Linked DNA regions of Homo sapiens: region 2 is linked to region 1. Evidence: promoter capture Hi-C in human tissues and cell types (Jung and others, 2019). All regions are on one chromosome and are shown on one strand. Each heading gives the region's core, a stretch centred on a gene start or on the middle of the fragment in contact. The rest is flanking DNA. Distances are from core to core; before and after follow the strand shown.

Region 1 (5,218 bases), core at 1,757-4,256:
CTTCCCTGGCTCCCCAACTCCCTCTGCCCAATGTCCAGTCCCAGCGCAGCCAGAGAGATTCTACATGCTTTCCTTCTGGCCACATGCGCATGTTAAAAGAGAAAGGCAGGCAGAAGGCAGTGTTCTTGGACTGGTTGAGAGCATACTTCGGTTCTTGCTCAGTCACTTTAACTCAATTCGGCAGACATTTCCTGAATGCTGACACTATCCTATCCACCCAGATACACCTGGGGCCCTCACGCAGGTCCTCTGCGTGTGCTCCTGGCTGCGTCTTCGTCTGTCTGTATGGTCAGTTTACTGAGCTCTCATCACATGCCATACCCATGAAAAAGATGACGGGGTCTGCACCATAGAACACATGATCATTAGCTCTCTACAAAGCCGTGTCCCATTTATGAACACAACTGCCCCCAATACCACTAAGACTGCTATGATCATACTACCTCCATCTGGAGAGAAAACCTAAGGCTCAGGAGGGTAAGTGAACTGCCCGAAGTCACAGTAAGTGGCAGAGGTGGCCTGAAAGACCAGGCAGCAAGCCCAGGCTCCCACCCTGCCTCCATCTTGACCTGCCATGTCCTAGCCGTTTGCTTGGTGGTTACTCAGCACCTGGGACCTTGAGGTCCTCATCCAAAGAGAAAAAAAATTAAGGTCTCTATAAGATGACTTTCCATGTATAAATATTAGAACCCTAAGTCTTAATTATAAAACCTCTGTGCAGTGGGCAAGGAGACCACCCATGTCACAGGAGAGGCTGTCAGGGTCTGGACAGCAAAGCTAGCTGAGGGGCAGCAGCCAGTGGTCACTAAGGGGCTGGGAACTTGTTAGTCTTCTCTTAACAAGATGGTTGCCAGCTTTTGTTGGACAGGGCCCTGACTCAGGTGTAGAGGATCTGAGCTGGAGCCTACATCTGCTAATGTCAAAAAAGTCATTAAAAACTAAATGACCTCAAAGCACCTTAACTTCCCAGAATCTGTTTATCTGTAAAATGGATCTAATACCTAACTCAAAGCATTGGGTGGAAAGTTAAATAAGACACCAGATATGAAAGCTTCATCCCTGCCCAATTGTAGAAAGGTTTCTCTGTGACCTACTAATTTGCACATCAATGCTATTATACCCAGCCCCCTCCTAAACCCATGCTCCTTTAAATATGACCATCAACCCACCCATTTATGTTCATAAATTCACTCCAACCTTCTCTGGCTCCTCACCCCATGGCTGCCTACTTTACCAAGTTCCCTGATAACATGCCCTTAGGTTTGGTTCTGAGATTGGAATGATTTTTTTTAAATCTTCTTCCCTCTATATTTTTGTATTACTTATTCAATTTTTTTTCTTTTTTTTTTTTTTTTTGAGACGGAGTCTCATTCTGTTGCCCAGGCTGGAGTACAATGGCGCAATCTCGGCTCACTGCAGCCTTTGCCTCCCAGGTTCAAGTGATTCTCCGGCCTCAGCCTCCCCAGTAGCTGGGATTACAGGCACATGCCACCATGCCCGGCTAATTTTTGTATTTTTAGTAGAGACGGAGTTTCACCATGTTGGCCAGGCTGGTTGTGAACTCTTGACCTCAGGTGATCCACCCTCCTCGGCCTCCCAAAGTGCTCGGATGACAGGCACGGGCCACTGCGCTTGGCCTTGACTATTCTTAAAATATTCTTGCATGCACATGCAGACACTGACCTACACATCATTACCACCACTACCACTCAAACAGCCCACCTGAGGGGCCTAGCTGGCAACCCCAGGATATCCCCCACTGAACACTGTGACCCTGAGCATGCCACTGCCTCTATAAACTTCAAGTTATCTCATCTGTGAAACAAGAAGTCAGGCCAACTTGACAAGACTCAAGCCCCTTCCACGGGTAGCATTCTGAGAAACCATGGGTATGGTGCAAGAGAAGGACAGACAAACATACTCTGTCCACCATCCTGCCTAAACCTTTGTGTATGAGGCTGACAAGGGTTACAATGGGTGACATTCACAAGGAGAGAATCTCTCCCTTGTTCCTTGCAAAAGCCCTGGGAAGTAGGTGCACCTATCTCCACTAAACAGATGAGCAAACTGAGGCACAGAAGCCATTTCTCTCTGCCTCCTACCCCACCCACGGCATCACCAGCACTGTTTTAAACACCATCCCTTCACTCGAGTAACTACCATGTGTCAGGCACTATGCTAGACCCTGGGAGCCTCGGGCACAGTGTGAGTAAGTCCCAAGTGGGCCCTCTCTGCTAGAAATCAGGGTTGCAAATACAGACCCCACCTCATCCTCCTCCCTCTCTCCTCAGAGGTAGGTGCTTCAGAGAATCCTAACATTCATGGAGCACCCAAGCCCTCTCATAGGAGGTTAACACATTTCTACTCATGTAATCCTCATCACAGTTCTCCGAGTTAGATTCTATATGTTATGACAGATGAGGAAAGTGAGGCGCAAAGAGGTTAAAAAACTTACACCAGGTCATCCCACATCCAGGTAGTGGCAACCCAGATTCACACGCAGTAGTTATTCTGATCCTAAGTATGTGCTCTGGACCGCTACATCCTAAGGCCTCCTCTTTAGGGACTGATCTCCCAAGGCTCAGAGAAGAGCCCTGTCTCCAACATGCAGCAAGCCTGAAGCCCAGTCGGGCGGTGACCAATCGTCCTGGTTTGGCCAGGCCCGAGGGAGTTCCCAGGACGCCGGACCTTAAGTTTTAAAACTAAAACGAGTTGGTCACCCTAAGTCCAGGACTCCTGCCACTTCCCCAGAGCAGGAGTGAGATCTGAATGGAACTCCTTCCTCCATGCGTAACCCAGAGGGGCTGACGGTGGAAATCCCGTCCCTCCCCTACTCACTCTCTGAGCCCCAGCCTCCCAGGTCGGACCTCTGGGCCACCACCCCTCACCTCTCAGCCAGCGCCCGCCAACGGTTTCAACCGGCCGCGGGGAGCACGTGGACTCGCCGCCGCCAGCCCAGCGCCGCAGCTACCTGCCTCTCAGGCTTCGCGGTGCAGAATTCGCTTCTGAACCACCCAGCGCGCCTGCGCACCGCGGCCACGCCCCCCCCAGTGGAAGTGACGCCAACGGAAGCAGGAAGGCGGTTCCGGCAAGCCAAGGGGGCGTTGTCGTGATGATTCCGCGGCCAGCGGATCGCTGCGAGTGGCCTTGAAGGCAGCTGCTGCAGGTGAAGAGTAGGCGGCGGGGCAGAGAGCGGCCTCCGAGGGTAAGGTGGCCGGCCTTGCGAAGGCGTGCGGGGCTGGCGCTGGTGGGAATGGCCCGGAAGGGAAGGGAGGCCGGGCGCCCGAAGGTGGCCCAGAAGGGCATGGACCCACCGCTCCTTCCCGTCTCTGGGCACTCGAGGATACCCGGGGGGTTGGCGGCTCCTGCGAGAGTCAGCGAGCATTTGCTCTGTGCCGGGCATCACAGGGGACGCGGACTGAGACCCAGACGGCCAGGTTCCGGGCCTGGGAGCCGGGCCTTCTCCCTGGTGCAGCTTCCTCGGCCTGGAAACCCCACCCGCGCCCTCTCATCTCCAGGCTTTGCCCGCTGGAAGCCAGCCCGGCCCGCCTCCGCTACGCGCTGCCCATCTCTCGGCTTCTGTTTCCTTCCACGCTGTAGTTGAGAGTAGCGCTTAAGACGACAGAGCCCACAGCCTAGCTCAGTTTCATTACGGTGTGGCCTCTTTGTGCCTCAGCCCCGCATCTGTAAAGCGAATGTCATAGCGGCACCTGCGTCCCTGGAACCTTGTCGTATTTCATGAGTTGGTGCATGTAAATCGCTTAGACTAGTGGCTGCCACTTAGTAAGTACTCAATAAACGTTAGCTCTTCTCAGCCCTTAAAACAGGGTCTGGCACACAGTGGTGGTCACTAGGTGTTTGTTGCTTAAATGAATGAATGAAAGTTGAGTGGAGGATGCACAGAGTATTGTGAGAAACCTTCACTCCCAAGGTGTGTGTATATGGGTGATAAGGTTTCACTCTGAAAGTGAGCAGTGTTGGGCCTGGAATAGAAGGTGTATTAGTTTGCTAGGACTGCAAACAAAATACTGGGTGGCTTAAACAACAGAAATTTATTATTTTCTCACAGTTCTGGAGGTTAGAAGTCCAAGATCAAGGTGTCTTCAGGTTTGGTTTCTTCTGAGACATTTCTCCTTGGCTTGCACGTGGCTGCTTTCTTGCTGTGTCCTCGCATGGTCTTTCCTCTGTGTTTTCACATCTCTGGCGTCTCTCTTTGCATCCAGATTTCCTCTTTATGAGAACGTCAGTCAGGTTGTATTAGGGCCCACCTTAATGGCCTCATTTTAACTTAATTACCTTCTTACAAGCCTGATCTCCAAATACAATCACATTCTGGAGTGCTGGGGGAACAGTTTAACCATAACAGAAGGAATTCACAGAAATGGACAAGGAGGGAAATACTTTCCAACAGAAGTGACAGAATGGCCAGGAGGCTTAAAAGCAGGGTGCTCAAGATGTTTTTTGTGTTCAGGGCACATATGTGTACTTCAGTCTTGTTTGTGCTCTCGTACTGTTTTTGGGTTTGGTTGTTGTTGTTTGTTTGTTTGTCCTCCTGAATACTCAAAGAAAGTGAGCCCTCTCATTTTTTTAGTCTGGCAAACTTAACTCACATTTCAGCATAGATGTGTCTTCCAGGAAGTTTTCCCTGACCCTCCCTCCCAAATTAATTTCTGCTTCCTCCATTTAATAACTTTGGTACAGGGCTGGGTGCGGTGGCTCACGCCTGTAATCCCAGCGCTTTGGGAGGCCGAGGCAGGCAGCTCCTGAGGTCAAGAGATAGAGACCAGCCTGGCCAACATGGTGAAACCCTGTAAACCCCATCTCTACTAAGAGTACCAAAATTAGGCGGGTGTGGTGGCGCATGCCTGTAATCCCAGCACTTTGGGAGGCTGAGGCGAGTGGATCATTTGAGGTCAGGAGTTTGACACCAGCCTGGCCAACATGGTGAGACCCCCACCCCTCGTCCTTACTAAAAATACAAAAATTAGCTGGGTGTGGTGGTGCATGCCTGTAATCCCAGCTACTCGGGAGGCTGAGGCAGAAGAATCGCTTGAACCCAGGAGGTGGAGGTTGCACTGAGCCGAAAGCACACCACTCCACTCCAGCCTGGTCAACTGAGCAAGACTGCGTCTCGGAAAAAAATAAAAAATAACTCTGGTACAGTGCAACGATACTTGTTTTTCCCACTAGACTGATGCTTCATGAAGACATGGATGAC
Region 2 (4,587 bases), core at 351-2,850, 1.9 Mb after region 1:
TTATGCATGATGTTTTTATTATGGATACTTCCTCCTCCCCCTCCCATATCATATCCCCCACCAAATAGCTCATGTTAACAACCTAGCTTGTTTTATTTCACATTTTTTATATTTTTCTCCATAAGAATAAATAACTACATTCATATATACATACATACATATGGGGGGTTGGGGGTCATTGTTTTACAAAACGAATTCATGATAATCACATTTTCTGCTTCTCACTTTTCACACTCATCAACACCTCGTGCAAATTCCTGCCAGCATCTGGGGAAATCTCTAGACTGACAGGCTGAGGCCATCCCACAGTTCACAGAGCCTTTTCCTATGGGTTAATGTCCCTTTGTCATTACCAACCGACAGCCATGGGCGCTAAATATTCTTACACAAACCCTCAGATAGCAGGACTACTTTTATTTCTATGGGATGGATTCCCAGGAGTGGAATGGCTGGTTGGAAGGTCTAAACTTTTGTCTGTCTGTTTGTTTGTTTTTTGTTTGTTTGAGACAGAGTCTTGCTCTGTCACCCAGGCTGGAGTGCAATCTCAGCTCACTGCAACCTCCGCCTCGCAGGTTCAGGCGATTCTCATGCCTCGGCCTCCTAAGTACCTGGGATTACAAGCACACACCACCACCCCCAGCTAACTTTTCTATTTTTAGTAGAGATAGGGTTTCGCCATGTTAGCCAGGCTGATCTTGAACTCCTGACCTCAAGTGACCCACCCACCTTGGCCTCCCAAAGTGCTGGGATTACAGGTGTGAGCCACCGTGCCTGGCCAAAAAGGTCTAACCTTTTTAATTTACATTTTTAAATTAGCAAATAATAATTGTCCATATTCAGGAGGTACATAGTGATTTTGTGATACATATAATGTGCAGTGATCAGATCATGGCAATTAGCATAGCCATCATCTCAGATGTTTATCATTTCTTTGTGTTGGGACCATTCAAAATCCTCCTTTTTGAAAAAAATAAAATAAAAATAGGGGCCAGGTGTGGTGGCTCATGCCTGTAATCCCAGCACTTTGGGAGGTCAAGGCAGGTGGATCACCTGAGGTCAGGAGTTCGAGACCAGCCTGGCCAATATGGTGAAACCCAGTCTCTACTAAAAATACAAAAAAAAAAAAAAAAAAAATTAGCCAGGCGTGGTGGCGGGTGCCTATAATCCCAGCTACTTGGGAGACTGAGGCAGGAGAATGGCTTGAACCCGGGAGGCAGAGGTTGCAGTGAGCAAAGATCGCGCCATTACACTCCAGCCTGGGCAACAAGAGCGAAACTTCGTCTCAAAAAAAAAAAAAAAAATAGGCAGATTACCTTCCCAAGACTCTAACACACACCCTTCTGCTTCAATGTATTTCCTGCATTGCCAACCTCAACCCACGCTGCAGCATGTGTAAATGTTGTCACTCTGATGGGTGCAAAGTGATGTGTCCTTGTTATTTTAATTTGCGTTTCTCTGTCCATTGGTGGATTTGAGCACCTGGTTTTATATATATTTATATATATATATATATATATATATATATATATATATATATATATATACACACACACACACACACACACATTATGTATATATTGCATATATATACACACACACACACACACACATATATATATGATTTGCTCTTTTAGATTTGATTTGCACTTTTGAGGTTTGTCTATTCTCTATCCCTTGCCCACTTTTAGTAGGGACATTTTGTCTTGTGCGCTGTTACGGCTCTCAGCATAACAATGACCCCTTTGCCTGTCGCCAACGTTCAAGCACTTTTTCCAGATCCAGCATTCATCTTTTGACTTCATGGCATCTTTTACCACACAACGACAAACTTTTTACATAGTTAAATATGTGTCTCGCTTTTTAAAAATAGCTTCTGAGTTTTATTCTTGGTAGAAAGTCTCCAGGACACATAGACTCATTATGCAGCTTCCAAGATTTTCTTGAGAGTACAAGAAAACTTAGTTCCTTCGGGCAGTTATTATACAGTGCTTATTTGCAGTACAAAAAAATTTAAAAGTGGTTTGGCTGGCAAATATGACCTTATAAAATACCTTTAAGTAAAGAAGTTTTCTATTATTTTAAAAATGTTTTTAGTGTGAAATGTTGTAAGAATGCCAAATATCATATATATAACACATATATGTTCTCTAAAGCACAATAAGAGGATTTCATTTGCATCCATATACTGCCTCTAAGGAAAGGCACGTGTACACACACACACAAACACACACACACACACACACACACACACACACACAAAAGGCAGTGGAATTATACCATGTGCAAGTGGTGCTGGAATGACCCAAGAAAGCTTTGAATGATCATAGTCACGTCTATATTCACCGCCCCTCCAGATAGTGAGAAGTTCTGATTATCCCTTTTGAGAATAGGGGCGGGTCAGAGAACAGGATCCAATCACTAATTGTTGAATTGTGATGTCTGTGCTATCTGGGACATGACTTCAAGTCTTTACTATATTCAAAGAAGAGAAAATAATAAACAAGCATAGATGGACCCACCATTCAACTTAACACATAGAGTATTAGCCATATCCCACACATCTCTCCCCATTTGGTAACCATTATCTTCAAGCATGTGTTTATCTTTTCCCAGTTTCATATACATGGTATATACATCTTCTTCCACATTTTACTTTTTAATTAATATCAAGTTTTAAAATCAATTTTGATATCTGCGGCTGAACTGGGAATGGACATCAGTTTTATTCATTTTACACCGTGCCACTATGGACCCCCTCCATTCTTATCTTCTGATGCACATGCATAAGATATTTCTAGAGCAGAGATATTCAACTGCAAAACTATCGACCTTTGGGCAGGATAATTTATAAAGGGGGGCTGTCCTGTGCATTGTACAATGCATAGCAGTATCCCTGGCCTCTACTTAAGAGATGCCAATTGCATCCTTCCCTCAAAATGTGACAACAAAAAGTGTCTCCAGCCATTGCCTTCCAGAGGGCAAAGTCACCCCTGATTGAGAAACATTATTCTGGAGTATATGTTATAGAGATGGAATTGCTAAGTCATGGGCATGAACATCTTCAACTTTACAAGATACTACATTTTCTAAAATGTTTATGCCAATTTATTATCCAACTACTAAGGACTGAGTTTTTGTGTCCCCCTAAACTTCATATGTGGAATCTCTAATCCTTAATCTGATGGTATCCGGAGATGGAGTCTTTGGGAGATAATTAGGTCATGCGGATGGAGTCCTCACAAATGGGATTAGTGCCCTTATAAGAAGAGACAGGAGAGAGATGATCCCTCTCTTTATCATGTGGAGGATACAGCCAGAAGGCGGCCATCTACAAGCCAAAACAAGGGCCCTCACCAGAACCTGACCATGCTAACGCTCCGATCTTGGACTTCACCCTCCAGAACTGTTAGAAGTGAATTTTTGTTGTTCAATCCACCCAATTAAAGGCATCAGCCAACAATCTATAAGAAACCAGTTATTTCACGTATTTGCCAACGTATAGTATTGGCTGAATGTTAAATTTTTGCCAACCTGGTGACTGTAAGGTAGGCACATGTTTTGCATTTGTTCTTTTTTTTTTTTTTTTTTTTTTTTTTTGAGACAGTTTTGCTCTTGTTGCCCAGGCTGGAGTGCAATGACATGATCTCGGCTCACTGCAACCTCCGCCTCCCGGGTTCAAGTGATTCTTCTGCCTCAGCCTCCCACGTAGCTGGGATTACAGGTGCCCACCACCACGCCCAGATAATTTTTGTATTTTTAGTGGAGACAGGGTTTCACCATGTTGGCCAGGCTGGTCTCGAACTCCTGACCTCAGGTGATCTACCCGCCGCAGCCTCCCAAAGTTCTGAGATTACAGGCGTGAGCCACTGTGCCTGGCCCCTTGCACATATATTCTTTTAAGGGCTTGTCATTTCATATTATTATAGTTTCCTTTGGGTGTATAGAAATGTTCACTTTAATATAGTAGGGCCAGTCACAGTGGCTCACACCTGTAATCCCAGCACTTTGGAAGGCTGAGGCAGGCAGATCAGTTGAGGACAGGGGTTTGAGACCAGCCTGGGAAACATAATGAGACCCCATTTCTATAAAAAATAAAATAAAAAAGGTAGCCAGGTGTGGTGGTGCATGCCTGTAGTCCCAGCTACCTGGGAGGCTGAGGCTGGAGGATCACTTGTGCCCAGGAGTTCAAGGCTGCAATGAGTTATGGTCACCCCAGTGCACTCTAGCCTTGGCAACAGAGTGAGACTTTGTCTCTAAAATAATAATGATAATAATATAGTCAATATTTTCCTTTGTGATGTGAGCTTTTTGTGTTTTGTTAAAGAAATGCTTCCTTTTCTTGAGGCAATAAAATATTCTCCCATATTCCCTTTTAAATGTTTTTAAGTTTTACTGCTTGTTTTGAGAATAAATGCTTCTGGAATTGTGTTTTATGTACAATGGGACCTAGAGAGTCTATTTATTTTTTCTCTCATGGCAACAACCAGTTGCCTAACCAGTTGTCCTGGCATTACTTATTTAGAACTCCATCCTTTTTCAATTCAACCTGTGACATATATTAAGCTTCCATGAATGCATGGCCTGCTT

The links. The method cuts DNA at HindIII sites, captures the fragments that hold promoters and counts their contacts. A contact is called where the count stands out against the background at its distance.
Region 2: a contact is called between a fragment that was not itself captured here and the fragment with the promoter of LYAR in region 1, in 1 of the 25 tissues and cell types used here (dorsolateral prefrontal cortex).

The regions. Positions count from the first base shown.
Region 1 is chr4:4,287,148-4,292,365 of GRCh38, forward strand. It overlaps LYAR (Ly1 antibody reactive), which reads right to left and starts at 3,007. Exons shown (of 10, transcript NM_017816.3): 1 at 2,889-3,007. ZBTB49 (zinc finger and BTB domain containing 49) reads left to right here and starts at 3,104. Exons shown (of 8, transcript NM_145291.4): 1 at 3,104-3,205. RefSeq lists enhancers at 956-1,494, 1,495-2,032. The HindIII fragment of the contact is 5,433 bases long and covers 460-5,218 here.
Region 2 is chr4:6,210,178-6,214,764 of GRCh38, forward strand. All of the region lies in intron 1 of JAKMIP1-DT (JAKMIP1 divergent transcript), which reads left to right. Among named protein-coding and RNA genes, the nearest start is that of JAKMIP1-DT, 12 kb to the left of the region's middle. The HindIII fragment of the contact is 3,673 bases long and covers 1-3,437 here.